7 separate regions of the Homo sapiens genome follow, and regions 1, 2, 4, 5, 6 and 7 are each linked to region 3. Evidence: promoter capture Hi-C in 16 types of primary human blood cells and fetal thymus (Javierre and others, 2016). All regions are on one chromosome and are shown on one strand. The core of a region is centred on a gene start or on the middle of the fragment in contact, and the rest is flanking DNA. Distances in the headings are between cores, read along the strand shown. Region 1 overlaps TKTL1 (transketolase like 1). Region 2 holds the start of FLNA (filamin A). Region 3 holds the start of IRAK1 (interleukin 1 receptor associated kinase 1). Region 4 holds the start of DNASE1L1 (deoxyribonuclease 1 like 1). Region 5 overlaps FLNA (filamin A). Region 6 holds the start of UBL4A (ubiquitin like 4A). Region 7 holds the start of MIR6858 (microRNA 6858).

Region 1 (3,521 bases), core at 398-2,897, 310 kb after region 3:
AACCATGGCTCCATTTATGCCCTAGGGGATGTGCTTCATTCGGACCACCCGACCAGAAACTATGGTTATTTACACCCCACAAGAACGCTTTGAGATCGGACAGGCCAAGGTAAGGGCTTACGCGCTCCTGCGTTATTCAGTATCATCTCCTGTAAAAAGAACACTTCTGAATCTATCACCAGCTATCTTCAGAGTTGAGACATCATCCTTTCTTTGCTCTCATTTTTTTAAAAAACAGTTGTGACCTTTACCTGCTTTTCCTTGGGAAGGAACATTCTATGAATTTCAGCTTAGCCTGAACTTTTCTGCTTTCCAAATGGAGTCTTTTGTTGTTGTTGAGTTCAAAGATAGTAACATGAAGCCACTTGAGCGGTCGTGGCTATAATTTATCTTGGCCGCAAGCTAAACAAAACAGAAGCCAGCGCTTTGGGAGGCCAAGGCGGGAAGATTGCTTGAGGCCAGGAATTCCAGAGCAGCCTGGGAAACATAGCGAGATTCCCATCTTTACAAAAATTTTTTAAACTAGCCGGGTGTGGTGGCATCCACCTGTGGTCTCAGCTACTCAGGAGGCTGAGGAAGGAGGATAGAGGAGCGCAGGAATTCAAGGCAGCAGTGAGCTATGATGGATCACACCACTGTACTCCAGCCTGGGTGACAAGAGTAAGACCCTATCTCTAAAAACAAGACAAAAAATAATAGAAATCACTTGAAATGAATAATCTGTTAGGTTCAGATTTTACAGATCTAAGGCCAGGAATAAAAGGGAACATGATCTCTGGTATTCTCACAAAAGCCCTGAGAAGTTCAGATTATCAGTCCTATCTGTAGATGAGGATTGGAGAAAGTAAGTGTCTTACTTAAGGGTTTACAGCTTGTGAGTACCAAGACCAGAATCCAGGCCTGAGTAGTGAGCCCAGTCTCCCCAGGTCTGCCCACCACGCTGACCATCCCCTGCTCAGCCTGCCTGTCAGGGCCATGCATAGAGAAAAGCAGAAACGTCTATGGAGAAAATAAGTGACTCTGCTCATCACCTAGGGAGTGGGGCTTGTAGACATTTTGGCATGCTTCCTTCCTGTCTTTGTTCTAGGCATACATGTATATTTTACACAGTTGAGATCATACTGAATAGAAAGGTTTGCCCATAGCCACTCTTGAAAGAGCAGCAGGTAACATCCAATTTGGTTGCTAAGGACTAGGCTGCTCCAGAATTCACAGTTGCAAGTACTCAGAATGGCCAGAGTGCTGCCATAAAGCAGGTGTTTCCAGAACTGTCCACTGTGTGCCATAACGTAGCTGGAAAACGCCACCAAATGGAAAAGTTAGTGTTCACCTTTGGTGTTAACTACAGGTTCTGTTTCTATGGGGAGGGTCTCTTGACATTCACATGGTTTGCAGAGCTTGCTTATTTCTGTCGTCTCTTTTCTAATAATTTTCCTGTCCTGACAAAAGCAAGTAAATTTACTGATAGTAAAGGATGTGAGATAAATGTGTGTGATAACATGCATGGCATGGATCGTTAAAGGGCTGGGCTTTGAAAAGAGGACATGGATATGTGTGCATGCGTGTATAAGTATTTTAAGAGGCCAGGACATCCTTAAAGAATGGGGTGGCTCAGAAACCCTTTCTGTACTATCAGCAATGGTTCTTAAGCTACAGGGAAACCTATACAGAGGGGAAGTGGAGAATAATTCCAGATGCCTCCGATGGGTAGCTTTGGAGGCAACAATCTATGAAAGAAGCCCAGGAACTCTGTCTTTGCTTGCAGAATAGTACGTTGTCGAGAGCGAGGGCTTTGATGTCAGCCCCGCCTGGCTGTGGGTCCCAGCCCTGCCCTGGGCCACTTCCTCCTGCTCTGAGATTTGCTTTCCTCAGCTGCAGAACGGTTGTGCCACTGAACAGATCTTACAGGGAGGCTGTGAGGGTTCTCAGAGTTCAGGCACACAAGATCTTAGCACTCAGCGTGTTGCCAATGCCCAGAATGTTCTCATTAACATGTTAGTCACTGGAGTCCAATCTTTGCATGCCATAGTGAGCTCTCAAACCAGACTCCTGATGGGTATGTGGCGTATCCATGCTCCAGGACAGCTGGAGCAGTGTAATTTCCTATCAAAAAGTATGTGTCCTGGCTTGTAAATGCATCTGATTTTTTTAGTAGTGAGTTATTAAGGAGTGAAATTGTTAGAATTGGGGGATAGCGGCATAGCAAAGTGCCTTCCACTTTGACATGCATTCTGTGTGTAGTAACCACGGCATTCTGTTTTGCTGGCACTATACCAGGTCCTCCGCCACTGTGTCAGTGACAAGGTCACAGTTATTGGAGCTGGAATTACTGTGTATGAAGCCTTAGCAGCTGCTGATGAGCTTTCGAAACAAGGTCAGTTGGTTGAGTATGAGCATTGAAGTTCAAGCTGGGAAGAGGTAGGACTTCAGCTACCTCCTGTGCCCTGAGTGCTCTTTTTATTTTTATCCCTGCATGTTATTCTGAGTCTCTTTCTTGTACCAAGCTGGTTTTTGCTGTTCTGCAGATATTTTTATCCGTGTCATCGACCTGTTTACCATTAAACCTCTGGATGTCGCCACCATCGTCTCCAGTGCAAAAGCCACAGAGGGCCGGATCATTACAGTGGAGGATCACTACCCGCAAGGTGTGTGTGGGCATTGAGAATGCTTTGGAAGGTTTTGGTGTTTTTGTTTCCTTGATTGGCCACATGGCATGCTCTCAGGCATCACCTATAGTCTACCTCTCACCCAGCATGGCTTTGTTATTTGATGTTCACTAAGCGTGGGGCCATACTCATACACATCTGTGTGTCCCCAACAGAGTGCACAGTGCCCAGTCACCAGGGCGGGTCAGTGGCAACACAGAGGAGTGGCTATTGCAGGCAAGCGAGGTGTCATGAAAAGCATCGCAGTTTCTTTGGGTTTGGAATGATGAATAGTATGCCCCAGGCCAGGCGTGGTGGCTTACACCTGTCATCCCAGCACTTTGGGAGGCCGAGGCAGGTAGAGATCACTTGAGGCCAGAAGCTCAAGACCAGCCTGGTCAACATGGTGAAACCCCATCTCTACTAAAAATACAAAAATTAGCTGGGTGTGGTGGTGCATGCCTGTAGTCCCAGCTACTTGGGAGGTTGAGGCAGGAGAATCACTTGAACCCAGGAGGTGGAGGTTGCAGTGAGCCAGGATCATACCATTGCACTCCAGCTTGGGAAACAGAGTGAGACTCTGCCTCAAAAAAAAAAAAAAAAAAAAAAAAAAAAAAAAAAAAAAAAAAAAAAAGTGTGCCCCGACGAAAGCAGGTATAGCAGAGAACACAGCAAATGCAGAAAACAGTGTGTCAGGGAGAATGGGCTGGGCAGTGTTTGCGCCTGGAAAGGTTAGGTGGGACAGATGATGTGATACAAGGAGCATTGAGTGTTCATGCGGCAGGGGCCCTCTGAGCCTGCACAAGCGGTGCCTGATCTCTCGAAGGACTCCTGGGACCCAGCACACAGTTGCTCTCACACCTGAGGTTGATGACA
Region 2 (3,428 bases), core at 147-2,646, 350 kb after region 3:
TGACTCTCTCTCCACTAAGGGCCATTGAGCTGGGTTGTCTGGGTTCATTCCTTAATCTTCAGAGCTCAGGGAAACTGAGTCAGAGTGACCAGTGGTCAATTCCAGCAGAAAGAGTGTCAGGAGGTGGGTGCCGTGTCTTCCAGCCCTAGCTTTTCCCTATTTAGAGGAAACAAGGAATGGGCGTGTAGAGGGTTCTTGTCCCTAGAACATAGTATCAACCGCCAGATGTCGCCCGATCCCAAAGCCACCAGATCGGGCAGTCCTGGGAAGCCAAAATCCAGCTCTTTCATATTTTCCCTTATTTGGAGTAGATTCTTGGATGTTAGGCACACCCCGCCCACCACACCACCCCTGGCCCTCAGACCCCAGGCCAGACCCTCCCACTGGGAGGTATAGCCCAAGCCCAGGAGCTGTTCAGCTGGGATCCCTAAGGAGCTGTTTCCAGGCCTGCGTAGCCAGGGGGCGCAGGAGGGAAGGAAGCCGCAGACTGGCAAGGTGAGAAGAGACCTGTGCTGGCAAGTCCAGGTGCGGCAGGTGAGGTCGCCCATTCCCAAGCTCCCACCTTGACGGTGCACTCGGAGCACTTACAAATGGGTCTGCCAGTGGATTTTAACCTATTTTGCCTGGCCCCAGGTGGCACGGGAATCTGGGGACATTGTTGGTTATATCCTGGCTGGCAGTGCGCATCCAACTCAGAGCCAACCTGGCATAGGGCCCAGGGCCCAACCAAGGAACCTGGCCTGGTCTCATCCTCACCATGGCCCCCATGGAGTAGAGCAGCCCCAGAACCAGCTCCCCTGTGCCCAAAGCAGCTGGTGCCCTGTGGACTCGAGCCAGCAAGGGACACGCTGTCCCCCTCCCAGTGGGCACACTGGCTGAGAAGTGTCCTTCCAGGTGGCCACTCGCCCTGAGTCCACACAAGTTCCTGGTGTCAGGGCCCTTCTCTCTCAGGCATGCAGTGGTCCGTTCATGGGCAAGTGCCCAGACACCCTCTCTCTCTCGGGGACCCCCCATGGCCTCAGGCTCCCACATTCGTGGGCACAGACATGGCTCGTGGGTCAACTAGGGAAGCTATTCTCTGGACACTCACTCCCAGATGCCAGGGGAGCCTCCATCGGCTCACGCATCCCAGCTGAACCTGGCCCGGACCTGGGCGCGAGCTGGCGCCTGCGTTTTCCGGCCTCTCTGCCCGCCTTCTCCAACCCCGCCCCCGGCCGACGAGGAGCGCGGCGACCCTACGGCGCGAAGCCGGGCCGCGGAGACCTCACCTGCTGTTCCTGAGAGCGACCGGTGACCGATGACCGCGGGGTGGCGCCCGGATCGCCTTCGCGCCCGCGCCCGCGCCAGGCGCCTCGGGGATTCTGTCGGCGTCCGCTGCGCGCGACGCGCCTCCACGCGAATGGGCCGCCGCCGCCCGCCTTCTTGTTGGCCGCACCCCCGCCCCGCGCCCGCCCCGCGCCCGGCCCGGCCCGGCGAGAAAGCCTTAATTGGTAAAATTGCCCAGGAGCCCGGGACGGGTGCGTGGGGGGCGGGGGTGCGGGGGCACGCCGTGAGCTCCAGCGACCCGCCGCCGGGCGACGCCGCCCCCCGAGATGAGCTCACCGCCGGCGAGGGCCGCCAGGCCCTGGGGGAGGGAGGGCTTCGTGGGGGAGTCGCCTCCAGCGCCCACAGGGACTGCAGGGCTCGTGTCTAGGCCCAATCACAAGGATCCTGCGTGTCTGAGTCTGGGGGAGCCAAGCGCACCCCAGGTGGAAAGGCCGAGGCCCAAGGCCACCTTCTCCAAGGAGCCACCCACAGTCACAGCCCCTGGTGTCTGTCCCAAGCCGGGATTGTTTCCTGGGGTGGGGGCAACAGGTCGTTGCAGGTGTTGGCTGGGCGCCTACGTCAGGCAGGGCCCCGGGACGGGACTGCAGGGCTCCGAGCCCTGGGATGAACCTGACTGCCATGGATCAGGCGCTGCCAGGTCTGGCCTGGGGTGGGCAGCAGAAACAGGATCGCTCAGGGGGACGAGAAAGTTAAGTTTGTTTAGTATTAAGAAGATTCTGATCTTAAAGAAAACATTGGCCGGGCATGGTGGCTCATGCCTATAATCCTAGCACTGTGGGAAGCTGAGGCAGGTGGATTAATTGAGCCCGGGAGTTTGAGACCAACCTGGGCAACACAGCAAGACACTATCTCTACCAAAAATATAAAAATTAGCTGGGCGTGGTGACGTGCACCGGTAGTCTCAGCTGCTCAGGAGACAGATGGGAGGATCGTTTAAGCCCGGGAGTTTGAGGCTGCAGTGAGCTATAATTTCACCACTACACTCCAGCCTGGGTCACACAGTGAAACCCTGTCACTAAACATAAAAAAAAAGGCCAGGTGCGGTGGTTCATGCCTGTAATCCCAGCACTTTGGGAGGCCGAAGTGGGTGGATCACGAGGTCAGGAGTTCAAGAACAGCCTGGCCAAGATGGTGAAACCCCGTCTCTACTAAAAATATAAAAACTAGCCGGGCGCAGTGGCAGGCGCCTGTAATCCCAGCTACTCGGGAGGCTGAGGCGGGAAAATCGCGTGAACCCGGGCGGCAGAGGTTGCAGTGAGCCGAGATCACGTCACTGCACTCCAACCTGGGTGATAGAGACTCCGTCTCAAAAAAAAAAAAAAAAAAAAAAAAAAAGGCCGGGCGTGGTGGATCCCAGCACTTTGGGAGGCTGAGGCAGGTGGATCACGAGGTCAGGAGTTTGAGACCAGCCTGGTCAACACAGTGAAACCCGGTCTCTACTAAAAATACAAAAATTAGCTGGGCGTGGTGGCAGGCGCCTGTAATCCCAGCTACTCGGGAGGCTGAGACAGGAGAATCGCGTGAACCTGGGAGGCGGAGGTTGCAGTGAGCTGAGATTGCGCCACTGCACTCCAGCCTGGGTGATAGAGCTAGACTGTGTCTTGGAAAAAAATAATAAATATAAAAATAAAAATACAAATAAAAAAATAACGTTAACAGCTCAGTGAACAATCATCTACTTGTCATAGACACTGAGGAATGTTTCCATGTTGATATTTTTTCCTCGTAACTCAATCATGTTGGGATTGTAAGTTATACAGCATATACTGCTTGCAAGCCATTCCATCCTTAAGGAGCAACTCAGTTTTCTTATTCTTGACTTAGAATTGGTTGCATCCCGATGTCTCCTCTGCCTGCACTTCCCAGGAAGAACCCCCTGAGGCCCTCAGATTTTCCTGCACACGCCCTTCCCAGACCCTCTGATGACTGCAAATCCCACCCTACCCTTGACGGGAAACTCTCTGAGGCTGTCCAGGTCATCACCCCCAGGGACCAGGTACTGGTGGGGGAATGTTCCATGAATTAATTGCTGTACTCAGGGCTCTTGGACAAGTCTCCCCTGATCGCAGGGTCCTGACTCTCCCTGTATAAGATGGAGGCTC
Region 3 (3,276 bases), core at 1-2,500:
CGCACCCAAAGCCACCCTCCCCGATCTTGAGCTCCTCCGAGAAGTTGTGGGTGCCCCGGGAAATCTCACAGAGGGGCCAGCAAAACGGAAAGGGGCGGGCTCCCTGCAGGAGGGACACTGAGCTCTCTGGGCCTGGCTGTGGGAAGAGAGCCTGGATCAGGTGGGGTCCCTGTCTCTTCCCTTCTGCCCAAGGCTCCAGGCTCTCCCCACCACAGCTGCCTCCCAGCTGACCCAGCTTGGCTGACTGGGGCTCTGCGCTACATCAAAGGCTGAATTCCTTCCTCCTTGTCTCGAATCTTCCCTGGGGGGCAGGGGACACCTACCTTGGTAGAAGAAGGGGCTGGAGATGGCGGTGGAGGCCACAGGGAAGCAGGGCTTGGGACCAGGCCGAGCTCAGGCCCTGAATGGGTCTGGGAGCCTGGAAAAGCTTCATAAAGACACCAGTGAGAGGCAGGCAGAGACCAGCAGCAGGGTCTACAGCCGTGGCCGTGGTCAAGGTGGGCTCTTCTTTGGGTCCACCGAGCCTAACAACCGGGCCCTCTTACCTGGGGAGAGGAAGGTGGAGGCTGAGGATGGCAACTTCCGGGGGCTCCAGGCCTCGGCCTCGGCGGGTGCAGGGATGCTGCTGGGCCTCGGGGCAGTGGTGCCTGGGGACGGAAGCGGGGCGGGAGGGTGCCCTGGGACGCCAAGGAAGGAAAGGAAGGTTGAGGCCCGGGTGGGGGAGCCCCGTGGGGCCCGCCGGCCTCCCAGCCGTGGGGTGCCCGGAGTCCCGCGCTCACAGGCTGTGATGATGTCCCGCGCACGGAGCAGCTGCAGGTGCGTGAGGATGTGCACGAGGTCGGCCACACGGGCGTTGCGGTTGATCCAGGGCCACAGGACGCTGGCCGTGCGCTGCCCGGAGCGCTCGCACAGCCGCAGCTCGGTCTGGTCGCGCACGATCAGGGCGGCTGCGGGGCGGGGGGCGTCAGGCGTCGGCGCCAGGAGCCCGCGCGCCTCCCGCCCCCCGGCAGCCCGCCGCCACCCACCGAACTGGCACCAGTCGGCGGGCTCCAGGGCGTCCATCACTTTGTAGAAGCGGCACATGACCCAGGGCGGCACCTCGTACAAGAAGTGCTGGGCGCCGGGGGCTGCGGGCTCCCCCGGGCCCGGCCCCCCGGCCATGGCTGCCGCCGCCGGGCCGGGACCTGCCGGGGCCTCTCAGGGCCGCGGCGGGCGCGGGCCTGGGCCGGCCGGGTCCGCGGACACTGACTCACTTCCCCTTCGAGCCGGCCTCGTGCGACGCCCGGCGGGGCGGAAGGGGCGGTGCCCGGGCCCGCCGCCATCTTGCGCGCCGCGGCCGCGCGCTGGGTCACACGGGGGCGCCCCGCGCCGGGGAGGGCCCGGGTCCCGGCGGGTTCCGCGAGCGGCGATCGGCCTCCCGGGCTCGCCCGGGCGGGGCTCTGGAGGACGAACGGCGGCTCCCGGCGTTGGGGACAGAGGGCAGGGCGGAGGCCCGGGCTGCTCGGAAAGGGGCCGGGGCCGGGCCTTCCGAAAGCTCCTGGGCGGCCCTGCCGGAACCCTGCTCTCCACTGCGGCCTGCAGGGCTGTTACCAGGAGCCCTGCCTGCCCGCCCCACGTCTAGCCCCCTGCACACGGCAGCAGCCTTGAGCCATTCAGTCTCCTTAGGTGTCCTGAAATATGCCGAGAACGCTGCCCGCCACAGCCGTGAGTGTATGCGTTGCTGCTGCCCCAGCCCTCATTTGGCAAGGGTGAGCTCAGGCAGCTGTGGTGAAGGCTTCCTGAGCCCGCCGGCAGAGCTCCTGCCACCCCGTACCTGTCCCCTCCTGGGCATCGTCCTTGATTACTTGTCTGGACCGCCACCCCCGGTCCCCGCCCTGAGATGGGGAAGACCCCACAAGCAGCAACGCAGACTTACTCTTTTGTTTCTCCAGCTGGATGTCTCCTCCAGCGACAGTTCCCCTTGCCCTCTTGATCCTGACAGCGAAGGGGTTCCCCACCCCTAGCCCTACAGACTTAGGACTTTTCCTAGAAACGAGAAGTGCCCAAGGCCCACAGCTGGCCCCTGTTGGAGTCTCTTTCCTGAAGCCACCACCACTGTGGCCACTCCCAAGGAAGATGCCAACCATACCATGAAACCCATGGCTTCTCACGGGACAGACTTTACTGAGATGTACCAACTCAAGTATCTGAAATGACTGCACACCCATGCTAACCTCCACGGGGGCACTTGGTCCTACTTACACACAAAGGCCCATCAGCTCACGGAACAGGGCTGGCATACGAGATGCTCAATGCATACAAGTTGACTTTTCAACCCTGGGATCTACCTTTGAAGGCCAGGCCTTCCGAGGGTACCTTCTAGCATGTGCATGTGAAGCTGGACTCCTTTGAGCAGTTGTCTCCTCCAGCCCCTTACCAACCTGGTGAGGCTGCTCCTGAGAGCCAAGGAAGCCAGTAACAAGGGGGCCCCCTTTGGGCAAACCCCTCAGCCTGCCCTTGCCTGGTCAGAGAACCACGTTAGCAGTCAACAGAGGGCACGTGAGGGTCCTGGCCAGAATGAGACACAGGAGGAGCCACAGCCTGCGGGGGTGGGGGTGTCCAAAAGCACCACAGCACATCCAGACCTAGGGGGTGCCCCTACCATACGGGTCTGGAGCAGGGAGGTTGTGCTGCAGGCTGACTCATGCCAGGCCCTTCCCGTCACACGCTGGAGCAGTGTGCCTGGAGAGCACTGGCTTGGAAGAAGCTGAGGGGCCAGCGAGGCCAGCATATGGAGGAGGCTTCCCTTGGCCGCTCGTGGCAGGCCTGAAGGCAGCTACCTGTGTCCAGGGACAGCCAGATCCAATGAGGAAACGCAGCACCATGCTGTCATGTGAGCTGGAGGGGGACTTCTGTCTTATAATGAAAGCCCAGACCTTGAGTCACTTTCACAGAGAGATTTATCGAGAATGCTAACAGCACAGGATACAGTACTTCCCAACAAAAGGTGCAAACGCGTCACTTAGAAAGGCATGCTGAGTATTCTTTGCTTTCACATGTATTAAAAAACTTACAAAAATAAAATAAAACTGCGTGCTGCCCATCTTTTCCAATAGTAAAAGAACCTTATGAAAAAATCACTTGATTTTTACAACAAAAGACACAAACGGACATTTTTATGTAAATTTATAAGGCAAACTCTTTATATAATAAATAGGTTACAGGGATTCAGTGGGGGGGGGGTGTTTTTGAAACGTATACAGGTACATTCAGACAGGTTTACTGAAATGGTACAAA
Region 4 (3,512 bases), core at 701-3,200, 390 kb after region 3:
TCTCGGCTTACTGCAACCTCAGCCTCCTGGGTTCAAGCAACTCCCTGCCTCAGCCTCCCGAGTAGCTGGGATTACAGGCACCCACCACCACGCCCAGCTAATTTTTATATTTTTTAGTAGAGACAGGGTTTCACCATCTTGGCCAGGATGGTCTCGAACTCCTGACTTCAGGTGATCAGCCGGCCTTGGCCTCCCAAAGTGCTGGGATTACAGGTGTGAGCCACTGCGCCCAGCCAGTGCTGGGATATTATAGGCCTGACCCACTGCGCCTGGCCTAGTCTACCTTTTTTTTTTTTTTTTTTTTTTTTTTTGAGATGGAGTCTTGCTCTGTCACCAGGCTGGAGTGCAGTGGCGTGATCTTGGCTCACTGCAACCTCTGCCTTCCGGGTTCAAGTGATTCTCCTGCCTCAGCCTCCTGAGTAGTTGGGGCTACAGGCGTGAGCCACCGCGCCCGGCCCCCCCCCTTTTTTTTTTTTTTTTTTTTGATAGTCTCATTCTGTTGCTCAGGCTGGAGGGCAGTAATGTGATCTCAGCTCACTGCAACCTCCACCTTCCAGGCTCAAGTGATGCTCTCACCTCAGCCTTCCGAGTAGATGGGACTACAGGTGCATGCTGCCACACCAAGCTAATTTTTTTTTTCTTTTTTTGAGATGGAGTCTCACTCTGTCTCCCAGGCTGGAGTGCAGTGGCTTGATCTCAGTTCACTGCAACCTCCGTCTCCCAGGCTCAAGAGATTATCCTGCCTCAGCCTCCCAAGTAGCTAGGATTACAGGCACGTGCCACCACACCCGGCTAATTTTTGTACTTTTAGTAGAGACAGGGTTTCACCATGTTGGCCAGGCTGGTCTCAAACTCCTGACCTCAAGTAATCCTCCCACCTCAGCCTCCCAAAGTGCTGGAATTACAGGTGTGAGCCACCGCGCCCGGCTACCAAGCTAATTTTTAAAATTTGTTTGGAGAGATGGGGTTTCACCATGTTGTTCCAAGACCCCAGTGCTTTTCGCCTCCATTAGCAACTACAGGAACATCTTCGTTCATCTCTGTCTCCCCACTTGTGAGATGTTCTCTTTAAGATAAACTCCCGGCAGTGAAGGGTGTGTGCATTTTAAAAGGTCTCAGATATGGCCAAATCATCCCCATTGCAACCTGTGATGGGGACTCTTTCCCATGCCCCTGCCACCACTGGGGAGCCCTTCTTGTTCATCTCACCAGCTGGAGCCCCCCTCTCTCAGTTTATCTTTGTCTCACACTCACCTGACCTTGCAGGGCTCGGCTCCTTGCTCCACGCCCTGTCCATGTGGCTTTTGCATCCTGAGGCATGAGTTCCTCTGCTCTGTCTGCCTGCTTTTCTCTATCAACCTGTCACCTTCCCTTCGGGCTCACTTCCTACCTCTCTGAGGCTCTGTCCGTCTCTGTCTCACTTTCCCTCTCGTCTCTGGTTTCCCTTCTCTGTCTCTCTGTTGCGGTGTCTCTCTCCTGGCTGGGTTTGATGTCTGTTTCTCCCTGACCACCTGCTCTGTCACTCATGCTAGTTTGGGTTCCCTACCCTGGTGCCTATTCTGGGATATACATGGGTATGTGGGCAGCCCTGGGCTGGCACATGCAGCCTTGGAGGCTCTGGCGTCAGGGACCCCCATGAGGGCTACCAGTAAGAACCAGAGAGAGCGACGGTTCCTGGCTTCAGCCCCAAACCCTGGCTGTCAATATCAGCCTTGGTGGGAGCCCTAGGCTTCCCTCTCCCTCTCAAACCCTCCCCAGGCAGAAGGCAACTTCCTCCCTTCTTCCGTCTCCCCAGGGGGCTCCCATACCTGCTCAGACCAGCTTGTCACCAAGTCTGCCTCATCCTTAAGTGGATCGCGATACCCCAGAAGAGCAGCTCCTGCCTGAATAGGGCTAGGAGGGGAAAAAAAAGAGGAAGAGGCTGTGTTCCTGAGCCACCCGGCCAGGAAGGGCCTGGCTGGGCCGGACGCCCCACCCTTGCCAACAGGCAGGCCCGCCCCGTCTCCGCCTCGCCGCCAACAAGGAGGACCAGCACCAGGCCTGGGAACTGCTGACCTGCCCGCCCACCTTCCCACCCAGACCCCGCCTTCCCGGGCCAGCGGGACATGACAGACCTGTGAGTCACTCAAGCCTGGGGCAAGGAGGGGCTGGTGCCTGAGTGAGACCCCGAGCTTCGCTCGCCAGGCCCGTCGCTCAGCTCCCGGTCTGGGTCCCCAGTCAGCAGTTGCTGGGGAAGGCGCAGGAGCTGGAAGTCATGCCTGATGCCACGAGACCGGGCACCCCAAGGGCGTGAGTCTTCTGTCCCTGTTGTTGGGTTCTGAGTCCCAGTGTGGCTGCACACTTCTGAGTTAGGGGTGTTTGATGCAAGCGCTCTGGAGACCCAAAGAGAGGGACAGTCCACACATGATCTGGCCACAGTCGTGAAGTCAAGGGAGGACTGAGGATCTGCCCCAGAGAGGAGGAGACCCAGGGAGCTGGCAGTCCAACGTCCTGGGGGTCCTGCAGTAATGCTGTTGGGACAAATGAGGTGCTCGGACAGGGTCTGTGAGCAGGAGGTGGGGCTGAATCCACTCAGCTTCTCATGGGATGGCTGTAGCTAATGGATTCGACGTGGTAATAGAAGGCTGGACAAATTTTAAAAAATCAATAAATTATGGGCTGGGCGTGGTGGCTCATGCCTGTAATCCCAGCACTTTGGGAGGCTGAGGCGGGTGGATACGAGGTCAGGCGTTCAAGACCAGCCTGGCCAACATAATGAAACCCGTTTCTACTAAAAATACAAAAAATTAGCCCGGCGTGGTGGTGGGCGCCTGTAATCCCAGCTACTCAGGAGGCTGAGGCAGGAGAATTGCTTGAGCCTGGAAGGCGGAGCTTGCAGTGAGCCGAGATCACACCACTGCACTCGCACTCCAGCCCGGGCGACAGTGCGAGACTCCATCTCAAAAAAAAAAATCAATAAATTATGGTTTAAAAATAAAAAACAGGCCAGGTAGGATGACTCACACTTTGGGAGGAGAGGCAGACAGATCACCTGAGGCCGGGAGTTCGAGACCAGCTTGACCAACATGAAGAAACCCAGCCTCTACTAAAAATACAAAAATTAGCCAGGTGTGGTGGCTTGCGCCTGTAATCCCAGCTACTCAGGAGGCTGAGACAGAAGAATCGCTTGAACCTGGGAGGCAGAGGTTGCAATGAGCTGAGATCTCGTCACTGCACTCCAGCCTGGGCAACAGAGCAAGACTCTGTCTCAAAAATAAAAATAAATAAAAATAAAAATAAAAAACTGCCGGGTGCGGTGGCCCATGCCTGTAATCCTAGCACTTTGGGAGGCTGAGGTGGGTGGACTGCCTGAGCTCAGGAGTTCGAGACCAACCTGGGCAACATGGTGAAACCCCATCTCTACTAAAATACAAAAAAAAAAAAAAATTAGCCGGGCGTGGCGACCTGCGCCTGTAGTCCCAGCTACTCAGGAGGCTGAGGCAGGAGAATAGCTTGAACCCGGGAGGCGGAGG
Region 5 (3,264 bases), core at 765-3,264, 340 kb after region 3:
GGTGGGGCAGGGTGGGTCCCCAAAGGGGGGCCAGCGTGTGAGCTCGGGTTCAGGTTGTTCCCGTCCGCCTGCCGCCCACACAGGCCTCTCATTGCCACCACCAAGCACAGCCAGGCCGCCAGGCCTCCTGCCCCGCCCTGCCCCTCCAAGCTGGGATGGCGAGTGGTTTCTCAGAAGGCAGGAAGGTTTCTCCTGACCACCTCAAGTGCCCATGTGGGAGAGGCCCGACAGTAGCACCCAGGTGCCTGGGAGGAAAAGGAAGGGCCCACTCCAGCCTAAGTGTTGACAGCCACTCCCTTGCCTACTCAGCCTCGTCCAGCACCATGGCCCACACTGCTGAACGCCAGCATCTGGCTGGGCACACGGCTGCCTGCGCCCTTCTGGCCTGGCCCCGGCCCCCATTGCTGTGTGTGGACGCGGTGAGGCGGAGTCCTGCTGCAGCGTGGGGGGATGTGACACTTGCCTCCCCACCCCCCAGGCCTGATGGTGAAACCGGAGTTTCCTGACAACTGAGAAGGCTCGCGGTGAAAAGCAGCCCGGTGCAGACAGGAGTGGGAGCGGGGAAGCGGGAGGCAGCGGGGTTAGCACCCGAGTAGCGCAGCGCAGCAGGCTTGGCAGAGCGGGGATAGCACCCAGGGAGACAGGGAACAGGAGGCCCAAGCTACAGCCACCACTGCTGGGTTGCGAGGGCAGAGCAGCTGAGCAGGCTCCAGGGCCCCAGAGTGCCCGAGGAAAGGGGAGAGACAGTGACGTTATGATCTGGGTCTCCGCCGTGGAGGCTTGGGGGGCTGTGGGCTGTGAGGCCTGGCAGTGAGAGTGCCCCCTGCAGCCTGGCCTCCTGCCAGGGAAGCAGCCAGGAGCACGAAACCTACTTGAAGGCCAAGCTCGAGGGGCCCTGCCACCAAGTCCCACTATCGGCCGAGGGCTCCTGCTGCACTAGGCTCCATGCTGGCCTGCCGCGGCCAGGCAGCTCTCCCAGGCTCCAGACCTGGCTGCCGGCTGCCCACGCTGCCCTGGGAGGCTTCACTCATGTGCACCCCATGCCATCTAGTTAGTGGCTTGGGCCCCAACCTCACAGGTACCCGACTGCCCCCACTTTCCCTGCCCGGCTCCCAGCCAACCGCAGGTCTCAGCCACTCCATCCTCAAAGTATGCCTCCTAATTTGGCTCTCACTGAAGCCCCGTGGCCGTCAAGCTTGCCAGAGAGCAACTTCAGCGCCCCCTTCCCCACCCCGGGCTCCCTGTCTCCATTCTGCAAACAGTAGCCAGGGAAACTGAGGTTACTGAGTCTTGCTCCCACCCTCAAAGCCCCCAAGGCCCTGCAATCAGTACTCCCCAGCCTCCCCCGCCCTGCGCACACACGCCTGTCACACACACATCGGATCCTACGGCCTGCTCTATAAAGCCATCTCGCTCCTGCCGCAAAACTCTAGCCACCCTCTCACCCTTTCCTTAGCCACCTCGCCCAAGTGCCAGGCCTGTAGCCTCTCATCAGCATCCCTGGGTGTCCCTGGCTGGGGCAGGTGACCCTCCATGCCTGTTGGGGAATGTCTGAATAACGTCACTGCTGGGGGATAGGGGAAGGGGGAAGGAGGGAGACGGGCCACAGAATGCACTTTGGGGCTCTGAGGCTGGGCCGGGCCCCGCCATGCTGGCCGCCCAAGCAGTCGACACTGGCGCTACTGCACTACCAGCCAGCCCCACCCGCTCATGCACCTCCCCCGGCCCGGGACGCAGAGGCCCCTGGAAGGTGGGGATGGGGGTCTGTGGATCTGGCCAGGGCTGGGGCTCCCATTGAGTTGGGGAGACCCCTTGTTCCCTCAGCCCACGCAGGAGCCCTTGTGCCTCCCTGGGTGCCAAGATCCCGAGACCCCAAAGTCCCCAGTGGGGTGCCTCTCAGGATGCACCTCACCCCAAAGCTCTCAGCTGCAACCCGAGTTCTCAGATGGGGAAATAAAGGCCCAGAGAGGGGAAGAGCTGGAGCGGTCATGCTCAGCTCCGGAAGCCTCCCTGGGCCCTCGCCCTCCAGCCCACGGCCTCATCTTCTGCACCCCACCCAACTCTGTCCCTGCCTAGAGCTGCAGCTGGAACTGTCCTGGGAATCGGCCCCAAGAGGAAAGGAAGCTGCCCCTCTGGGCAGGAGGGGCATTGGGAGTGGCCCCAGCAAGCAGCTTACCTAGCCCGTGACCTCCGATTGACACTGAGGTGAGAGGGCAGAGAGCAAGGAGAAAGGTCAGGTGAGTCACTCAAGGGGGCGGCCCCCACTCCCACACGCCGCCCCAAGCAGCGAGCCCTTGCACACAGGCACAACCCAAGCCCCGTGCCGAGCGCCGCAGCGGCCAACAGCGGGCGGGCTCACCTGTGACAGTGCACTTGCTGGCGTCCCCGGTGGGCACGGCACGCACGCGGTACGGGGAGAAGGGGATCTCGTCACCACCGTACTTGATGAGGATGGTGTAGCGACCTGTCACGTCTGGCACGTAGGCCACTGTATACGTGCCGTCATGGTTGTCTTGGATGTGTGTCTTCTTCGGCTTGCCTTCGGGATCCTGTGTGGCAGAGGCAGGGGAGGCAGTTGGCCCAAGCCCGAGTAGCCCCGGGCCTGCCTCAGGCGCTCCCAGAGTGCCCAGCGCTGCTGCTACAGGGACAGTCTCTGGGCCTCAGGCATCTTAACTGCTATGGCCCAAAAGGGCTGCCTGCACCTGGCAGAGTCCAGAATGGAGACTAAAACATCCCACACTTCCCACATGACAACAGGCGCGGCCAGCCAGCTTGGCACCCATCCTCAGCCCCAGGGCCTGGCCAGCACTAGGAGGAGCTCACCGGGGTGATCTCAAGCTTCTATCCTATACCTGCCCCATGAGAATATTACAGGTGGGGAAACTGAGGCACAGAAGGCTTTGGTGACGTGCTCAAAGTTAGCAGCAAGTGCACGTCTGGGGAAGCCTGTGCCTGTCACCACCATCCTAAGGTAGTCACAACCTTAGCAAACCAAAGACAGGGGCCCTGTCCTTCCCTGCCCTCCTTGGTGCAGCTCCGCAGGGAGATCAGACACCAGCCACCCGCAGCCCACACTCCAGCCGCCCAGGCCCCCCTGCCTCCCCTGCCTGTGCCCGGAGCTCACCGTGATCTGGACAGCCAGCAGGCCCTCCCCGGCGTCCTTTGCATCGATGGTGAACTCCACGGGCAGGCTGGCAGGCACGCCAGTGGTGTTGAGCCCGGGGCCACTGGCCTTCACCTTGCTGGCATCATGAGTAGGCAGCA
Region 6 (3,428 bases), core at 217-2,716, 470 kb after region 3:
GAGCTTGGAGTTGGGCCCGATGCTATAATCCGAGAGTCGTTTCCCATCTGCCAAAGACAGATCGATGGGTTCCTCCTCCTCCACCGCCGTGGGGGTGGCCCGGGGCGCGAGGCCGCCTCGGGCGGCGGGAGCGGAGCGCTGCGGCATCCGGCTGTGAGGCATGCGGCCGCCTCCCTTGGGGTCATGTGGCGCTTGGCGCCCGCACCCCGACCCGACACACGGCTGCTGGCCTCGGCCCGCGCACCCCGGTCCCGCTTCCTGCGGGGCTCCCCGGGCGTCTCCTCTCCCTGGGTACCTGCCAGGGCCTTGCCCTTGAACAGCAGCCGCTGCTGGCGCACTGGGACGTTCAGCTTCTCGGAGACCAGCTGCTTCAGCGTGGACACCAGCTCGTCCTCTGGCACCTGGCCGCGCGGAGGGTGGGAGGCAAGGGTTGAGCCCGCGGCCCCCAGACGGCGAAGCCCACGCGTCCGCCCCCGAGGGCAGCTCTCCCGGCTCCCGGCCCTCGGCCCGGCCGCCCCGTGCCCGCCCTCGGCCCTGCCGGTCCCCCTGCCAGGAGCGGGCGAGAGAGCGCGCCGGACCCGGCGGCCCGGCCCGGGGACCCTACCTGCAGGCTGCACTCGCGGCCCTGCAGCGCCTTCACCGTCAGCTGCATGGCGGTCGCGACGGCGTCCACTCGGGCCGGCGCGCACCCCAACCACCCCCCGCCGCGCGCCGCCGCCCCGGGCGCGCGCTGGAACCGCCCGCCGCCGCCGGAAGCAGCGAGAGGGGCGCGCCCGCCGCCCGCGCTTCCCGGCCCCGCCCTCCTGCCCCGTCCGCGCCCCGGCCCCGCCCCCCGGCCCAATTGCGCCCCGGGAGGAGTCCCCCCGGGGTCCCGCCTAGCATGCGCGCATCGACCGCCCTGGCCGGCGGACCCCTCCCAAAGCAACGACGCGGGGGAGTTGGGAGCAGGAACCAGTCGGGCCAGGTTGGCGTCATCTGGGAGCTGGGACATGGAGAAGGGAGGGCCAGAAGGTACGCTCGCCCCCGCGGACTGCCTGGCCCACCTCACGCGCCAGGACTGCTGGCGGCGCCTGGCCCTGCATACCCACAGACGGCCCGCCCCCGCTCCCTGTCTGGTGGCTTCCTACCTCCTCCTTTCTGGTCTGGCTGCGAAACGCTCCACTGAGCTTGAGAGGGGGCAGGGGGGCTACGCCTCTGCCCTCATCCTCCCACCTCTCCCAGAGTGGGGACACCCCCGGGGAGGGCTGATAGGGAAAGCCTATGCAGGGGTCACCGTGTCACCCAAGCTGGCCCTCCACCCTGGTCCACACTTACCCAGCACACTCTTTCTACCCCCACGCCCAGGCCCCAAAGGGCAAAGAGTAGAAGGGACCCAAGCTTGCTTCTCTCTTTTATTGAAATATATTTTCTGGGCAGCGCCCACCTACCTAACTCAGCATGGCCTCTTTGGCACTGAAAGCTGGAGAATAAAAAATCAGTAAAAAAAATAAGCCTGGATTTTTCTGAGTGCATAGTGCATGAGAACTTTGGTGGAGTGTGGGGGCTGGGGCTGATGAAAGCTTGACCCAGAGGCCTCAGGGAACTGGGAACAGGCTGCTGTAGATGAAGTGGCCAATGACCAAGGCCAGCATCTCGGAGGTGCCGCTCAGCGCCACAATGAAGGGGGCCTGGGAGGCATAGTCAGCTTGAAGGCGGCGGAGGGATAGCTGCAGCATGGCCAAGGCCAGCAGGCTGTTCTGCACCCCTACCTCAATGCTGACCGTCCGCCGCTGGGCCACTGGCAGCTTCAGACACGTGGCTAGGCAGTAGCCCACCAACAGGCCAACCAGGGGCACCGTGATACCCACCAGTACGATGGGTAGCCGGATGCCTGCCAGGATGAAGACCCCCATGCGATAGGCCAGGAAGAGGCCGCCCAGGAGGAGCACAAAGCTGAAGGGCTTGACGACCTGCAGCAGCAGCTGGGAGAACTTGGGGAGCTTGGACTTGATCAGCACGCCCACGGCTATGGGGATGGCAATGAACAGCAGGGTCCCCAGGATCTTGGAGATGGGCACGTGGAGCGTCTCATGGATGCTGAGCAGGCGGCTGTAGATGGCCGAAGACAGAGGCAAGAAGCCAGTGGCAGCCACCGTAGAGAGGAAAGTCATGGAGATGGCCAGGGTGACGTCCCCTCCAAGAAGGAGGCTGAAGAGGTAGCTCCCCCCGCCGCCAGGCGACGAGCAGGTGATGATGAGGCCCAGAGCCAGGGCCTTGGGCAGCATGAAGACCTTGGCCATGAGGAAAGCGTACAAGGGCATGACCAGAAACTGGCCCAGGAGGCCCAGCAGCATGGGCTGGGGGCTCTGCATGAGCCCCTTCAGAACCTCGAGTTCCACTTTGCACCCAAACGAACACTTGTTGACAAAGATAAGAGGCAGGAGCAGGTAGAGGATTGGGTTTTCCGAGAAGTGGGCCAGGTCGGCGCTGAGGGTGGCAGGCGTGTCTTCAGCAGGTGAGACCTTGATGCAGAAGTCTCTCCGCTCCTCAATCAGTGTGGGCGGGGCCTCATGGGCGTCCACGAGCTGGATGTGGAGTGGGGCCAGCCCAGCCAGGCCTGAGTGGATGCTCACCACAAAGCCACCCCCGCCTCCCCAGGTTATAGCACTCACGTTCTTGATGGTCAGCACCTCTGTGTCCAGGGAGGTGACCCTGAGCATGGGGCCAGGCGCCGTCCTGTTGGCCTGGCCTGGGTACTGGCTGGAGATCACGATGATGCCCTCACTGTCCTCAGGAAACTCAAACTCCATCACAGAGCCATCTCCAATGCTCAAGTAGCGGCCCCCAGTCGGTGGCACGGTGTGACCCCCAGCAGTGCTGAGGCTGGTGCTGGCTGTCCCTTGGGCCCCCCATGGCAGGCTGATGAGCAGCAGGGCAGCTCTGAGCATGCTTAAGGGACCTGTGCCACCACCCTCGCCCCCCAGACCAGGCCACTGCTGAGAGCTGCCCTTGTCCTGCATTAACACCATGGCTCTTCCTGGAGGACGGATGGCGTGCCCAGGCCCTCTGCGGCTTAGGAGAACATCCCCACTGGTGCTGTTGGGTTGTCCTGAGAAGGGTTCATGGGTGGGTCCCAGTCCTGTGCTGTCTTCCTTGATGGCAGGGCTGTCCCTGAGGAGGTAAGGGACACAGAGAGGCAGCTGGTGAGGGTCACTTACCCTGGAGGCCTTGGTCCAGCCATGTGTCTTACCTCTGAAGAGGGAGGCAGTCAAGAACCCAGGAGCATGGGGATCTGGAAGCCCACTGCTAAGAGTAAAACTCAGCAGGGACCCTTGCCCCACACTCAGGAATGGAGAGGCAATGCCTAGTGATGGCCCTTGAGTGCCATTCAGCTGTGGCTCCCTGGCCCACTCTACCTGCCCCTACAGTGACTCGATGAAGGTCCTGCT
Region 7 (3,097 bases), core at 1-2,500, 430 kb after region 3:
AGCTCATGTACATCAAGGAGGACTTGATCATCCCTCACGTGAGTCCCTTCAGCCCCAGTACCCGCAGTGGGTGCAGCACCCTGGGCTTTGGCTCAGGCTGGTGGGGGCAGTGTGCGCAGGCGGGGGGTGTGGGGAGGGGCCGAGATGGACCATCAAGACGCCGCTTTCCTGCCCTTGGCTCCCAGCATCACAGCTTCTACGACTTCATCGTCACCAAGGCACGGGGGAAGAGTGGTGAGTGCCGCCGACCCAGCCGCCCCCATAGCACCTTGCCGCCGATGTTGTCACTGGGGCAGCAGCGGGACATTGGGCTGTCACTTCTCCCCTGCAGGACCACTCTTCAACTTTGATGTTCATGACGATGTGCGGTTGCTCAGTGACGCCACTGTGGAGAAGGATGAGGTACAGCGTAGGGGGCCGTGTGAGGGGGAACGGGTGTCCCTGGGCTATGGAGGAGAAGCCAAGGGAAGGGGAGGTCAGCAGGCGGCCCTGTGCCCTCTTCCTCCCTTAGTCCCATGCAGGCAAGGTGGTGCTGAGGAGCTGGTACGAGAAGAACAAGCACATCTTTCCCGCCAGCCGCTGGGAACCCTACGACCCTGAAAAGAAGTGGGACAAGTACACGGTGAGGAGGGGCTGGCAGGGACCCCTCCAAGTTGGGGACGGCAGCCAGCCCCTGCTCACCCCTCGCCTTCCTTGTCTCCTCTGCCCACCTTGTCCTCACACTAGATCCGCTGAGCATCCAGGAGGCTGCGCGGCCCCGGCTCCTCAGCTCCCTCAGTGTGCCCCGTGGTGTCACCGGGACTCCAGGCACCCGCTCCCCTGCGACCATGCCAGGCACGCTGGGAGGAGGACGGCAGCTGCTCGTGTCCTGCCCCTGCCACATCAGTGACTGCTTTATTCTTTTCCAATAAAGAAGTGCACGTGTCAGAGCTGGAGCGCCTGCATTGTGAGAAACCATTTGTGTTCGGACCAAATTCATTTGTCATTTTGACCATTTAAAACTGTACAATTTGGTGGCATTTAGCACATTTGCCATGTTGTGTAGTCATCACCCTGGTCTGCTTCCAGGACATTCTCATCCCTCCAAAGGCCCTGTGGCCATAGGCAGGCTCCTCCCCTCACATCCCCCCACCAGGCTCTCATGTGCTTTCTGTCTCCATGGATTGACCTGTTCTGGACGTGTCATACGTGCCTGGGGAGTCTGTCACCGTGGCAGCCCCACCATCCCTGAGGTGTCTTTGTGGCACTGTGCTTCTTGACCGTGGGCACCTGTCCTTGGGCGGTGGTGGCTCTGGTGGGTGGGAAGGGGGTTCCTCCCCAGGCCTCTCTCCCAGGCCCTTGGGCTCCTGTTGAGTTTCCCGTAGGGGACGTGGCCGTCCTGTGGCCACGAAAACCCATCCTGCCTTCCTTGCTGTGGGCCGTCCCAGCACAGTCGTTCTGCTGTGGTGCCCTGTGCTCGACACTTGCCTGCCCTGCCCTAGCTAGCCCTGCTCAGACAGCCCTTGGGGCAGGATCCAGATCGGGGGTAGGTCCAGGACCCCTACTCTGCCACCTCAGCAGCTGATTCCCCAAGTTCCACTTGGCTAAGCTGAGGCAGGCAGGCCTGGCTCCAGGAGGCTGAGGAAGGCCAGCTGACAGCTCCCTGTTTCCTCCCCTGGCCTGAAGCCAAGAAGAAAGGGCAGGGGATAGCCCCTCACTGGCCAGGATCACCCCAGCCCTGGGTCTGGCCTCCCCTTCCTGGCAAATGTGGAGATCTGATGGTGCCCGATAGTGCAGAGGCCCAGTGTCTCATTCAGCGTGGCCGGGAAGTAGCCACCTGGCGTCACTAGGAATAGAGATGAGAGTAGACTAATGTTTTCTTTCTTTTCTTTTCCTTCCCTCCTTCCTTCCTTCTTCCTTCCTTCCTTCCTTCTTTCTTCCCTCCCCTCCCCTCCCCTCTCCTTCCTTTCCTCTTTCTTTTTTTTTTTTGAGACTGGGTCTTGCTCTGTCTCCCAGGCTGGAGTGCAGTGGTGCAATCTCAGCTCGCTGCAGCCCCCACCTCCTGGGCTCAAGTGATCCTCCCGCCTCAGCCTCCTGAGTAGCTGGGACTACAGGTGTGCACCACAATGCCCAGCTATTTTTATTTTTATGTACATGAAAATTGGAACAGAATTAAAAAAAAATTTTTTTTGTAGAGATGGGATATTGCTCTGTTGCCCAGGCTGGTCTCGAACTGCTGGGCTCAAGTGATCCTGCCACCTCAGCCTCCCAAATTGCTGGGATTGCAGGTGTGAGCCACTGTGTTTGGCTGAGTAGGCTATTTGATGCTCTGGAACCAGATAAGGTCACCAAGGATCAGTGTGTGCCAGGGGTGGTCACCCACTTTGCTCACCCGGGCCTCGTTCCTGGGGGCTGTGTGTGTAGAAAACAGAGAGGGAAACAAACAAAACAAAATGTAGAACAAGATGAGCTGGCCTTTGTGGCGTGGAGACATTTAAGCTGACATCCAAATGACAAGAAGTCAGCCATTCCGATGCGGGAGGGAGTGTTCCAGGCAGAGGGAACACCAAGTCTGGGTCAAAAGTGAGCTGGAGGCCGGGTGCAGTGGCTCATGCCTGTAATCCCAGCACTTTGGGAGGCTGAGGCGGGTGGATCACTTGAGGTCGGGAGTTCGAGACCAGCCTGACCAACATGGTGAAACCCCGTCTCTACTAAAAATACAAAAATTAGCTGGGCGTGGTGGCAGGTGCCTGTTATCTCAGCTACTCAGGAGGCTGAAGCAGGAGAATCGCTTGAACCCGGGAGGCGGATGTTGCAGTGAGCCGAAATCACGGCACCGCATTCCAGCCTGGATGACAAGAGAGAAACGCCGTCTCAAAAAAAAAAAAAAAAAGAAAGAAAAAAGGTGAGCTGGGCTGGAACAAGGGGAAGCTACCTTTTTCCCTCATCTTCACTGTCCAGCAGAAGCCATGTATTCAGGCGGTTCCCATGTCAGCATGGAAGCCAGTTCCTGCAATGTCCCCAACAGAGATGTGCTTTTCTTCACTGCCTGCTTACCTGTTCTCTTTCTCTAGACAAAGACAAGCTCCTACGGCTGCTCCTCCTGGCCCTCACCTTT

What was found. The method cuts DNA at HindIII sites, captures the fragments that hold promoters and counts their contacts. A CHiCAGO score of 5 or more calls a contact.
Region 1: a fragment that was not itself captured here is called in contact with the fragment with the promoter of IRAK1 in region 3 in 5 of 17 cell types (monocytes, naive B cells, total CD4 T cells and 2 more); the score reaches 10.4 in monocytes.
Region 2: a contact is called between the fragment with the promoter of FLNA here and the fragment with the promoter of IRAK1 in region 3, in 4 of 17 cell types (M0 macrophages, total CD8 T cells, non-activated CD4 T cells and 1 more). The highest score is 7.6, in M0 macrophages.
Region 4: the fragment with the promoter of DNASE1L1 here is called in contact with the fragment with the promoter of IRAK1 in region 3 in 8 of 17 cell types (total B cells, monocytes, naive B cells and 5 more); the score reaches 9.6 in total B cells.
Region 5: a contact is called between a fragment that was not itself captured here and the fragment with the promoter of IRAK1 in region 3, in 3 of 17 cell types (monocytes, naive CD4 T cells and total B cells). The highest score is 7.6, in monocytes.
Region 6: a contact is called between a fragment that was not itself captured here and the fragment with the promoter of IRAK1 in region 3, in 11 of 17 cell types (total B cells, naive CD8 T cells, non-activated CD4 T cells and 8 more). The highest score is 15.5, in total B cells.
Region 7: a fragment that was not itself captured here is called in contact with the fragment with the promoter of IRAK1 in region 3 in 1 of 17 cell types (monocytes); the score reaches 11.2 in monocytes.

What each region holds. Positions count from the first base shown.
Region 1 is chrX:154,325,314-154,328,834 of GRCh38, forward strand. TKTL1 (transketolase like 1) reads left to right here. Exons shown (of 13, transcript NM_012253.4): 10 at 26-109; 11 at 2,278-2,374; 12 at 2,526-2,645. Among named protein-coding and RNA genes, the nearest start is that of TKTL1, 31 kb to the left of the region's middle. The HindIII fragment of the contact is 6,606 bases long and covers 1-3,521 here.
Region 2 is chrX:154,373,238-154,376,665 of GRCh38, forward strand. It overlaps FLNA (filamin A), which reads right to left and starts at 1,397. Exons shown (of 48, transcript NM_001110556.2): 1 at 1,269-1,397. RefSeq lists an enhancer at 135-184 and silencers at 1,274-1,333, 1,344-1,483. The HindIII fragment of the contact is 17,250 bases long and covers 1-3,428 here.
Region 3 is chrX:154,018,652-154,021,927 of GRCh38, forward strand. It overlaps IRAK1 (interleukin 1 receptor associated kinase 1), which reads right to left and starts at 1,251. Exons shown (of 14, transcript NM_001569.4): 1 at 1,026-1,251; 2 at 780-947; 3 at 546-677; 4 at 324-427; 5 at 1-136. The coding sequence starts at 1,161. MIR718 (microRNA 718) reads right to left here and starts at 1,338; the gene lies at 1,269-1,338. It overlaps MECP2 (methyl-CpG binding protein 2), which reads right to left. Exons shown (of 3, transcript NM_001110792.2): 3 at 2,922-3,276. RefSeq lists silencers at 621-690, 701-800, 1,151-1,530 and enhancers at 1,216-2,185, 2,301-2,370. The HindIII fragment of the contact is 4,941 bases long and covers 426-3,276 here.
Region 4 is chrX:154,407,304-154,410,815 of GRCh38, forward strand. It overlaps DNASE1L1 (deoxyribonuclease 1 like 1), which reads right to left and starts at 1,951. Exons shown (of 8, transcript NM_001303620.2): 1 at 1,809-1,951. The HindIII fragment of the contact is 12,936 bases long and covers 1-3,512 here.
Region 5 is chrX:154,355,075-154,358,338 of GRCh38, forward strand. It overlaps FLNA (filamin A), which reads right to left. Exons shown (of 48, transcript NM_001110556.2): 28 at 3,125-3,264; 29 at 2,360-2,549; 30 at 2,177-2,200. Among named protein-coding and RNA genes, the nearest start is that of FLNA, 18 kb to the right of the region's middle. The HindIII fragment of the contact is 1,643 bases long and covers 1,194-2,836 here.
Region 6 is chrX:154,485,933-154,489,360 of GRCh38, forward strand. It overlaps UBL4A (ubiquitin like 4A), which reads right to left and starts at 683. Exons shown (of 4, transcript NM_014235.5): 1 at 605-683; 2 at 296-401; 3 at 1-47. The coding sequence starts at 652. SLC10A3 (solute carrier family 10 member 3) reads right to left here. Exons shown (of 2, transcript NM_019848.5): 2 at 1,379-3,150. The coding sequence starts at 3,008. The coding sequence ends at 1,575. RefSeq lists enhancers at 1-130, 131-889, 1,227-1,286 and silencers at 67-216, 707-966. The HindIII fragment of the contact is 182 bases long and covers 1,376-1,557 here.
Region 7 is chrX:154,449,698-154,452,794 of GRCh38, forward strand. FAM50A (family with sequence similarity 50 member A) reads left to right here. Exons shown (of 13, transcript NM_004699.4): 9 at 1-38; 10 at 186-234; 11 at 332-402; 12 at 512-622; 13 at 727-957. The coding sequence ends at 735. It overlaps MIR6858 (microRNA 6858), which reads left to right and starts at 623; the gene lies at 623-689. The HindIII fragment of the contact is 4,829 bases long and covers 1-3,097 here.